Linked DNA regions of Homo sapiens: region 2 is linked to region 1. The links are contacts of gene promoters, found by promoter capture Hi-C in blood cells and fetal thymus (Javierre and others, 2016). All regions are on one chromosome and are shown on one strand. Each heading gives the region's core, a stretch centred on a gene start or on the middle of the fragment in contact. The rest is flanking DNA. Distances are from core to core; before and after follow the strand shown. Region 1 holds the start of ZNF415 (zinc finger protein 415). Region 2 has its middle 25 kb from the start of ZNF577.

Region 1 (4,394 bases), core at 1,329-3,828:
TCTATTATATAATAAAGAGCAGAAAGCATGCAGACCTCTATCAAAACTGGACACAATTAATTTCAAAGGGAAAGATTTTGAAATTGTTAAGAAATATCTGATGAATTTTGGAGCTAAAAAAATTGAAAACACATTATATTTAGAAAATGCCATGAGCTGATTATAGGATGCCACCAAAGTTACTTTGGAAATAATTATATACAGAAAAATAGAAACTGAATTAATGAAGATCTATCTCAAGTTGCAAAATGAACTATACATGAGATGAAAGGGAATTAGTAAGAAAAAAAGCAAATCAATTACAAAAAGCAACAACACTTTTTTTGTTTGTTCTTTGTTTTTTTTTCAGACGCAGTCTTGCTCTGTCACCGGATCTCGGCTCTTGGCTCACTGCAACCTCCGCCTCCCGGGTTTACACAATGCTTTGCCTCAGCCTCCTGAGTAGCTGGGATTACAGATGCGTGTCACCATACCTGGCTAAGTTTTGTATTTTTAGTAGAGATGGGGTTTCACCATCTTTGCCAGGCTGGTCTTGAACTACTGACCTTGTGATTCACCCACCTCGGCCTCCCAAAGTGCTGGGATTACAGGCATGAGCCACCATGCCCAGCCTCAACACTTTTAATGTTCCTTTTGAGCAACGTTGTCCAATCCGCAGCCCAGGAAGGCTTTGAATGCAGCCCAACACAAATTCCTAAACTTCCTTAAAACATTTTGAGATTTTCTTGCAACTTTTTTTTTTTTTTTTTTTTTTTTTTTTAGCTCATCAGCTATTGTTAGTGTTAGTGTACTTTATGTGTGGCCCAAGACAATTCTTCTTCCAATGTGGCCCAGGGAAGCCAAAAGATTGGACACCCCTGCTTTAGAGAGACACTATGTAGTGACAGTCTTTCACTTTCTGCCCAGCTTTACTCTCCCACTCCCCCTTCCCCTCCCCCTGCCCCAACGCCAGGGAAGGGGAAGAGGATGACCTGTGGAATTAATGAGTCAAGTCACTTCCCTCTGCCTTAACAGGGATTGCAAGTGGAAGCTAACTTCTGATGCCATAATTATAAAATGCACCAGCCTTAATAGACAGGAGCTTTGCAATTCTCATCATCTGTGCATTTTAAACTTATAAAGACAGAAATCAACAGGTCAAAAGGTAGTCATCACATCCAGTCAGTTCACAACTCACCTGGACCTGGGGTCCCCCTCTTTCCTCATTATGGTGTGTTTCCCTCCCTCGTTCCGTACATCGCTCTCATTCTCACCTTCTTTCTCTAGCTCTTTCCTTCCCCTTTATTTTCTCCCTAGGATTCTGCTCATTTTGAGCCCCTCTCCTCTCCTGCTGCTCCTCCCCGTCTTCCCTCTATTCTTTCTCTTCCACTTGCTCTTTCCATTCTTGCAATGTATTTAATTCCTCTTTCTTCCTAATCTTTTCATTGTCCCAGTCTCCACATATTTCTGGCTCTTTCTTCCCCATTTCAGCACTCCCTGTTAAATTCCCTCTTCCCTGTTACACACCGTTGTCCCCACTCTTTGGCACCCCCAGATCCCAGGCCTCCCCGTGCTGTGGTTCTCCCTCTGCTTCTCCTTGTCATCGGCTGCCCCCTCTTGCTGTCCCGGTACCACACTGCCCTGTCTGCCCTGGCTCCAAATCCCTTCTGCTCTCCCCCACTCTCTGTCTGAGGAGCCTCCTCCTTTGCTGCCCCTCTCCCTACCTGGCTGTCCTTCATCTCTCTGGATACTGTGCTTTTTCTCGAAATGTGTCTAGTTACTTTTCTCTCCCTGCTACTTTCTCGGCTTCTTCTTCCACTCTTACTGTCTCTGAAAATCTCTAACCATCCTCTACTTTGCCATCTGTTTATTGGTTTGCCTCATTCCTTCCTGTCTCAGGTTTTCTACTGCTCTCTCTGTCCCTCGATCCCTTTGGCCCACACATTCACAGGACGGTTTGGGGTAAGACGCCTGCATCCTGGAGGAGCGCATTTTCCACGGGGTGGAGGAGGGCAGGCAAGAACATCGGGTGTCACAGGACAGGCCCTGAGCACCTCCCCAGCGCGGGCTCAGGGGAGGCCTGGGGAGCAGCGGGGCCCGGCACGAGGAGGAGGGAGGTGGGGCGCGACAGCGCCTTCAGACAGGGGTGGGGTCTGCAGGATCCCAGGACCAGGCAGAGGACGCAAGGCTCCCCGGGACTGCGGCTGCAGCTGCGGCGCTGCGCTCCAGGGGCCGACGAGGGCAAGGCTGGGAGGCACCCAGGACGGGAATACACCTCTTGGGTGAAGACTTTAAAAAGCCCGGGGATGGGGGAGGGGGTCAGGAAAAGGTTTTAAGCGGGAGGAAGAAGCAAAAGGCCGGGGACGGGGAGCAGCCTCAAAGCGACTTCAACCCAAAGGGAAGCGACTCCGGACCCACACTGCGAGGCCTGTATTCACCTGGGGTGGAGTGTACGGGGATTTTAAGGGCCGTATCGACCCTGGACATCGGCTGTGGAAATGGGAAACAGGGAGCGCAGGTTTAATCTACACAGAGGGTCACTCACGCTCGACGCCGTCACCTTCACCCAACGCGATCCGTTTCCGGGCCTGTAGGAAACTGCGCATGCGCGGAGAGAAGAGCCCGGGCAGCCTGAAGGAATGGCTGGAGTGGGCGGGGTCTGCGCCGCTTTAAGGTAAAAAAATCAGAGTTGTGTGGGCCACTTATGGTGGAAACCAAAATGTTTTCCACTTACCAAGTTGAAAACGGTTTATGTTAAAACTATTTTGCCTGCAGGTTGGACCCGATCCTGCTAGGGAGTCTCCTGCAGCTTAGCAGTCCGGGAACTGGGATTTCGGTGGGGAATCCAAAACTAGCAGTGATTGGATCCATAAAAGTTACCAAAAAACAAAAATGAAGTGTCTGGAATCACTCCACTGGATTTCAAGACTACCAATATAGGAAAGGTAATAAAAACTGTGTGGTTTTGGGGCAATAAAAGACATATGGATTGATGCAATACAGTAAGAGAGTACAAAAATAGCCTCTACAGGTACTTCCAACTGATTTTTGACAAAGTTACCAAGGGAATTGAATGAAGAATTTTTAAAAACTGGTGAGGGGCTAACTTAATATCCACAGCAGGAAAGAAGTCATCTCTACTCAAACTTCACAACCGTACAGACATTAGTTCAACATTGACCATAGCCTAAATGTAAAATATCAAACCATAAAATGGTATCCTGTAGGAGACTGAAAGAAAAAATTACTCACAATAAAATCGTAAGAATCAAGAGCTTGTTCAAAAATTCTTAGCCATAGCAGCAAAAGCATGATTCATTAAAGAAAAAAAAAATCAACTGGTATTTACCAAATTAAAAACTTTTGGTCTGTGAAAGACCTTCAGACGATGAAAGAAAAGGTATTTGATATGGTTTGGCTCAGTGTCCCCATCAAATCTCATTTTCAAGTATAAACCTCAGGTGTTGAGGGAGGGACCTGGTGGGAGGTGACTGGATCATGGGGGTGGTTTTCCCCAAGCCGTTCTCATGATAGTGAGCTCTCAGGAGATCTCATGGTTTAAAAATCTGTGATAGTTCCTCCTTTGATCGCTCTCTCTCCTGCTGCAAGCAAGACGTGCCTTGCTTCGCCTTTGCCTTCCTCTATGATTGTAAGTTTCCTGAGGGCTCCCTAGCCATGCGGAACTGTGAGTCAATTAAACCTCTTTTGTTTATAAATTACCCAGTCTCAGGTTGTCACAGGAGGGTTTAGGCAGTGTGAAAATGGACTAATACAGTACTGAATAATAGAAAATATTTGCCTACCATATATCTGACATAAAACTGGTATGTGGAATGTATAAAGAATCCTAGAACGACTTAAAAAAAAAGCAAAATAATCAAATTAGAAAATGGATAGAACTATGAAGAGACATTTCACTGAAGCAGATATACTGAGATAAATGGGCACATAAAAAGATTTCCAACATCACCATCCATCAAATCTCAGACCTCAGCATATTCTGCTTTCTCCATGTGAACCCCTGGATGCTGTCAGAGATCATGAGAAACACAGGAGCTTCTACTGAACAGTCCAGTTGATGTGTATTAGCAACCTGTAATTGTTTTTGGAAACGAACAATGGAAACACAGATACAAAAATATTCTCAGCTCAAGAAATATGCACTTTGTCATTATTAGTGATTTTTTTTTTTTTTTGAGACAGAGTCTTGTTCTGTCACCCAGGCTGGAGTGCGGTGGTGTGATCTCAGCTTACTGTAACCTCTACCTCCCAGGCTCAAGCGATTCTCCTGCCTCAGCCTCTTGAGTAGCTTCAACCACACGCACGCGCCACCACACCCAGCTATTTTTTGTATTTTTAGTAGAGATGGGTTTTCACCATGTTGGCCAGGCTGGTCTCCAATTCCTGACCTCAGG
Region 2 (4,394 bases), core at 1,117-3,616, 1.3 Mb before region 1:
AACTTTTTTGACAATCACTGCACTCATAATTGACTCTCTCTTTTTTTTTTTTTTTTTTTTTTTGAGACAGAGTCTCACTCTGTCACCCAGGCTGGAGTACACTGGTGCAATCTCGGCTTACTGCAACCTCCACCTCCTAGGTTCAAGAGATTCTCCTGCCTCAGCCTCCTGAGTAGTTAGGATTACAGGTGTGCACACCACACCTGGCTATTTGTTTTTTTTTTTTTTTGTATTTTTAGTAGAGACAGGGTTTCATCATGTTGGCCAGGCTGGTCTCGAACTCCCAACCTCAAGTGATCTGCCTGCTTCAGCCTCCCAAAGTGCTGAGATAACAGGCATGGGCCAATGCGCCTGGCCAATGATTCTTCTTGTGAGATCTCTACGGTAAACGAGGGATATCTTCAAAAAAGAAGGCTTAAAATATTCATTGCATCTATAAGGTTTCTCTCCCACAAGAGTTCCAAAAGGGCCCATTACAATCATAGTATTCATGGAACTTCTATTGTGTCTGAGCTGATGTGACTAATCAAAAAAGCTCTCTCATATTCCAAGTCACTGCATGGACTTTCTTCCTTCCTGCTGGGGTTTCTGATGATTAGTAATAGCTGATTTCTGAGTAAAGCTTTTTGACATTCACTGCATCTATAGGGCCTCTTTCCTGTGTGAGTTCTCTGGTGACCAATGAGAGTTTACAAAGTAGCGAATGCTTTCTTACAATCACTGCATTTATATGGTTTCTCTCCTGTATGAATTCTCTAATGTACAGTGAGACAGGATTTAACTATGATGGCTTTATTACACATGCTACATTTGAGGAGTTTCTCACCTGTATAGGTTCTCTGTTATATAATGAGAGTTGACTTACAGGACAAAACCTTCCCACATCCACTGTATCCATAAGATTTCATTCTTGCATGGCAAGTTTTTCGATGCTTACTGAGACCTGTCTTTTGGGTGAAAGCTTGTTGACCTTCATTGCATCATAGGGTCTCTCTCCTGTGTGAATTGGCTGATGAGTCATGAGATATACCTTACTGGAGAAGGCCCTATCACAGTCTGAGCATTCATATGATTTATTTCCTATATGAGTTCTCTGATATACAATGAGATTTCCCTTTGATGTGAAGGCTTTATCACATACATTGCATTTGAAGGGTTTCTCACCTGTATGGGTTCTCTGATGTATAACAAAGTTTTTTTTGGAGGATAAAACCTTCCCACATTCACTGCATTCATGGGATTTCCTTACTGCATGATGAGTTTTCTTATGATTGTTGAGATCCAACTTCCAGATGAAAGCTTCTTGACATTCACTGCATCCATAGGGTCTTTCTTCTGTATGAATTCACTGATGCTTCATAAGCTGAGCCTTTTTCAAGAAGGCTTTCTCATAATCCAAGCAAGCATATGGTTTCTCTCCTGTGTGAGTTCTCTGATGTATAGTTAGCTGTGTTCTAACCATGAAGGCTTTATGATAGACTTTGCACCTGAAAGGTCTCTCTCCTGAATGAGTTCTGAGATGCAAAATGAGGTTCGACTTCCAAGGAAAAGCTTTCCCACATTTACTGCATCCATAGAATTTTCCTTTTCTATGAAGAACTTTCTGAGGATAACTGAGCTCAGATCTGGTCTTCAAAGCTGTTTGACATTGAATGCATTAATAGGGTATCTCTCCTGTGTGAATTCACTGATGAATCATGAATAAAGCCTTTTTTGAGAAGGCTTTTTCACAATCTGAGCAAGCATATGGTTTCTCTCCTGTGTGAGCTCTCTGATGTACAGTGAGATGTGTCCTAACCACAAAGCCTTTATCACATACTTTGCAAATGAACGGTCTCTCTCCTGAATGATTTCTTTGACATAAAATGAGTTCTGACTTCCAAGGGAAAACTTCTCCACATTTGCTGCATGTACAGACTTTCCCTTCTCTATGATGAGTTTTCTGATGATACACAAGCCCTGAATTTGTAATGAAGGCTTTTTGACATTGATTGCATCAGTAGGGTCTCACTCCTGTTTGAGTTTGCTGATGAGCAATGAGCTTTAACTCACTGGGAAGGGCTCTCCTAAAATCATGAGATTCCTGGGATTTGTTTCCTGCATGAGTTCTCTGAGGCATGGTCATGAGTAGTTTACAAGTATTCACTGCACATTCACTGCATCCATATGATTTCTTTCCAAAAAGAATTGGTTATAATTAGCAAGCTCTGACTTCTGGATGTTATGAAAGCTAGTGTACGCACAACAGAGTAAGTGAGATAACAAGAAGAGGTCCAGAAAAAGGCTTCTTTTCCCATTTACCATAAAAAGATATTAGTAAGATGGTTAAATTTGAGTAAGCTCTGTATTTTAAATAATAATACTATATCAATGTCAATATTCTGATTTTGATCACAGTATTCTGATTATGCAAAAGAATGCTCTTCTTCCTATGAAATACACACTTGGGTTTTAGGGTAGAGTTCAGAAAAACCATATGTACCTGTGTGTGGTGTGTGTGTATAGATAAAATAAAGCAAATTGGTAAAATCATATTTTGGGGAAATTTGCAAAAAGAATGTGCAAGAATTTTGTGTATCATTTTGGAACATCTCATTAAATCTAGACCATTTGGAGACAAGCATTTTCAAAAGGAGAAAATAAAAATAAAGATATTGATGAAAACATACATAGGGACACTAAGTATAATGGCCTGAATGTAAAAGAGATAAACAGTGTAATATTCACCCAATGCCATTCTGCACAGGACTCAGATTCTTGATCTAGGTGCTGGTTGCACAGTGTGCTGACTAGAAAGTTACCTAGCTGTATAATTACATTATATGTATGTTATACCAAAACATTTTTCATTAATAAGTAAACAAAAACGTTTAGGCCGAAATCAGGGAATGCTCCCTTGTAGGAGGATCCTGAAAAGAATTTGGATCTTGTGCTAACAGTAACAGGATGCCATTACCAATGATAGTGGGAGCAGGATGACATGTCCTGATTTCCAATTTAAAAGCAACATCCTGTGTGTATGTTTATCAGTAATTAACACTGACCATGTCTTAAATATTATGGCATGAATATTTTTAGGCTTGCACCCTGTGAATGAGTACAGATTTGCTACATCATATAGCATTTTTTAGACCATAATTTAGATCTTTCCATCCTCCAACTAAGATTTACCTTTTTATATGAAGCTTTAATTACTTTCCGCAACACTTTTGTCAAAATCTGAAGTCTTTTAAGAACCAAGATGTTTCTGATGTTTATTTTAATGTTCAGGGATTTTGGAGGTGAGGGGCTAGAAACACTGACTCCTGCCCCTGACTCCCGCCCCTGACTCCCGCATTTATTTTCATAAATGAAAATAGTAAAATAAATTCATTAAGGGTATTATGTGGAGAATAGAAACAAGAGTAAAGGACTGAGAGTATATTAGAGAAAACTATCATAATTTTGGCAAGAGATAATGGACATCGAAGCTTGAGTGAAAATAACTGTTAGAGAAAGGAGTAGAGGACCTCGAGATATAAGGAGAAAGTAAAGTCTAAACTTGCTAAATGGACTGGATTTGTGGGATGAGTGAAACGGTGAAGCAAGGATGACTTGAAGTTTGAGTTAGCTATTAGATCTCCAAGCAATTCCCAGGCAAATGTAGGAGGATAAGGAAATATCTAGCCTGTAGAGAGAAATCTGTGAGTCATCAACATATAAATAGCATTGTTAAGTCCATGAAATCGAAGAGGTCACACTGGGAACAAAGAAAAGAAATTACCAATGATGAAGCACCCTTACGCCCTCCAACTCTGAAGGCTTTGGGAGAAGGAGATGCCCAGAGAATGGAAAAAGTCCATCCATCACGCTCAAACAATAAGTACCCAGAAAAGAGGCCAACTTAAGTCTTAGGAACCAACATCTGTGGGAAGCAAGATAAAATGAAGTCTTCTCAGCTCTTCACATAAATGTAAGTGCTGTCACTCTGTTTCAGATTCATTCTTCTTTAATTCTGCATGCAACAGTCAATGAACTTTCCCAAAGATTTTTTTTTTCTTGAGACGGAGTTTCGCTCTTGTCACCCAGGCTGGAGTGCAATGGCGCAATCTCAGCTCACTGCAACCTTCGCCTCTAGGGTTCAAGTGATTCTCCAACCGCACCTCTGGAGTAGCTGGGATTACAGGGCACTCGCCACCATGCCCAGCTAATTTTTGTATTTTTAGTAGAGACAGGGTTTCGCCATGTTGGCCAGGCTGGTCTTGAACTTCTGACCTCAGGTGATCCACCCACCTCGGCCTCCCAAAGTGCTGGGATTACACACGTGAGCCACCATGCCCGCGCCTTCCCAAAGATTTCTAACACCATATATACAGGAACACCACTGTGGTGAGCACTCCCACCTTCTAGGTTGC

Evidence for each region. Contacts are between HindIII fragments. The CHiCAGO score rates a contact against its expected background, and 5 or more counts as called.
Region 2: a fragment that was not itself captured here is called in contact with the fragment with the promoter of ZNF415 in region 1 in 2 of 17 cell types (total CD4 T cells and total CD8 T cells); the score reaches 7.1 in total CD4 T cells.

Annotation. Positions count from the first base shown.
Region 1 is chr19:53,130,332-53,134,725 of GRCh38, forward strand. ZNF415 (zinc finger protein 415) reads right to left here and starts at 2,579. Exons shown (of 4, transcript NM_018355.4): 1 at 2,525-2,579. The HindIII fragment of the contact is 7,510 bases long and covers 1-4,394 here.
Region 2 is chr19:51,861,074-51,865,467 of GRCh38, forward strand. It overlaps a transcript of ZNF577 not described here and the pseudogene LOC100419706. Among named protein-coding and RNA genes, the nearest start is that of ZNF577, 25 kb to the right of the region's middle. The HindIII fragment of the contact is 1,634 bases long and covers 1,550-3,183 here.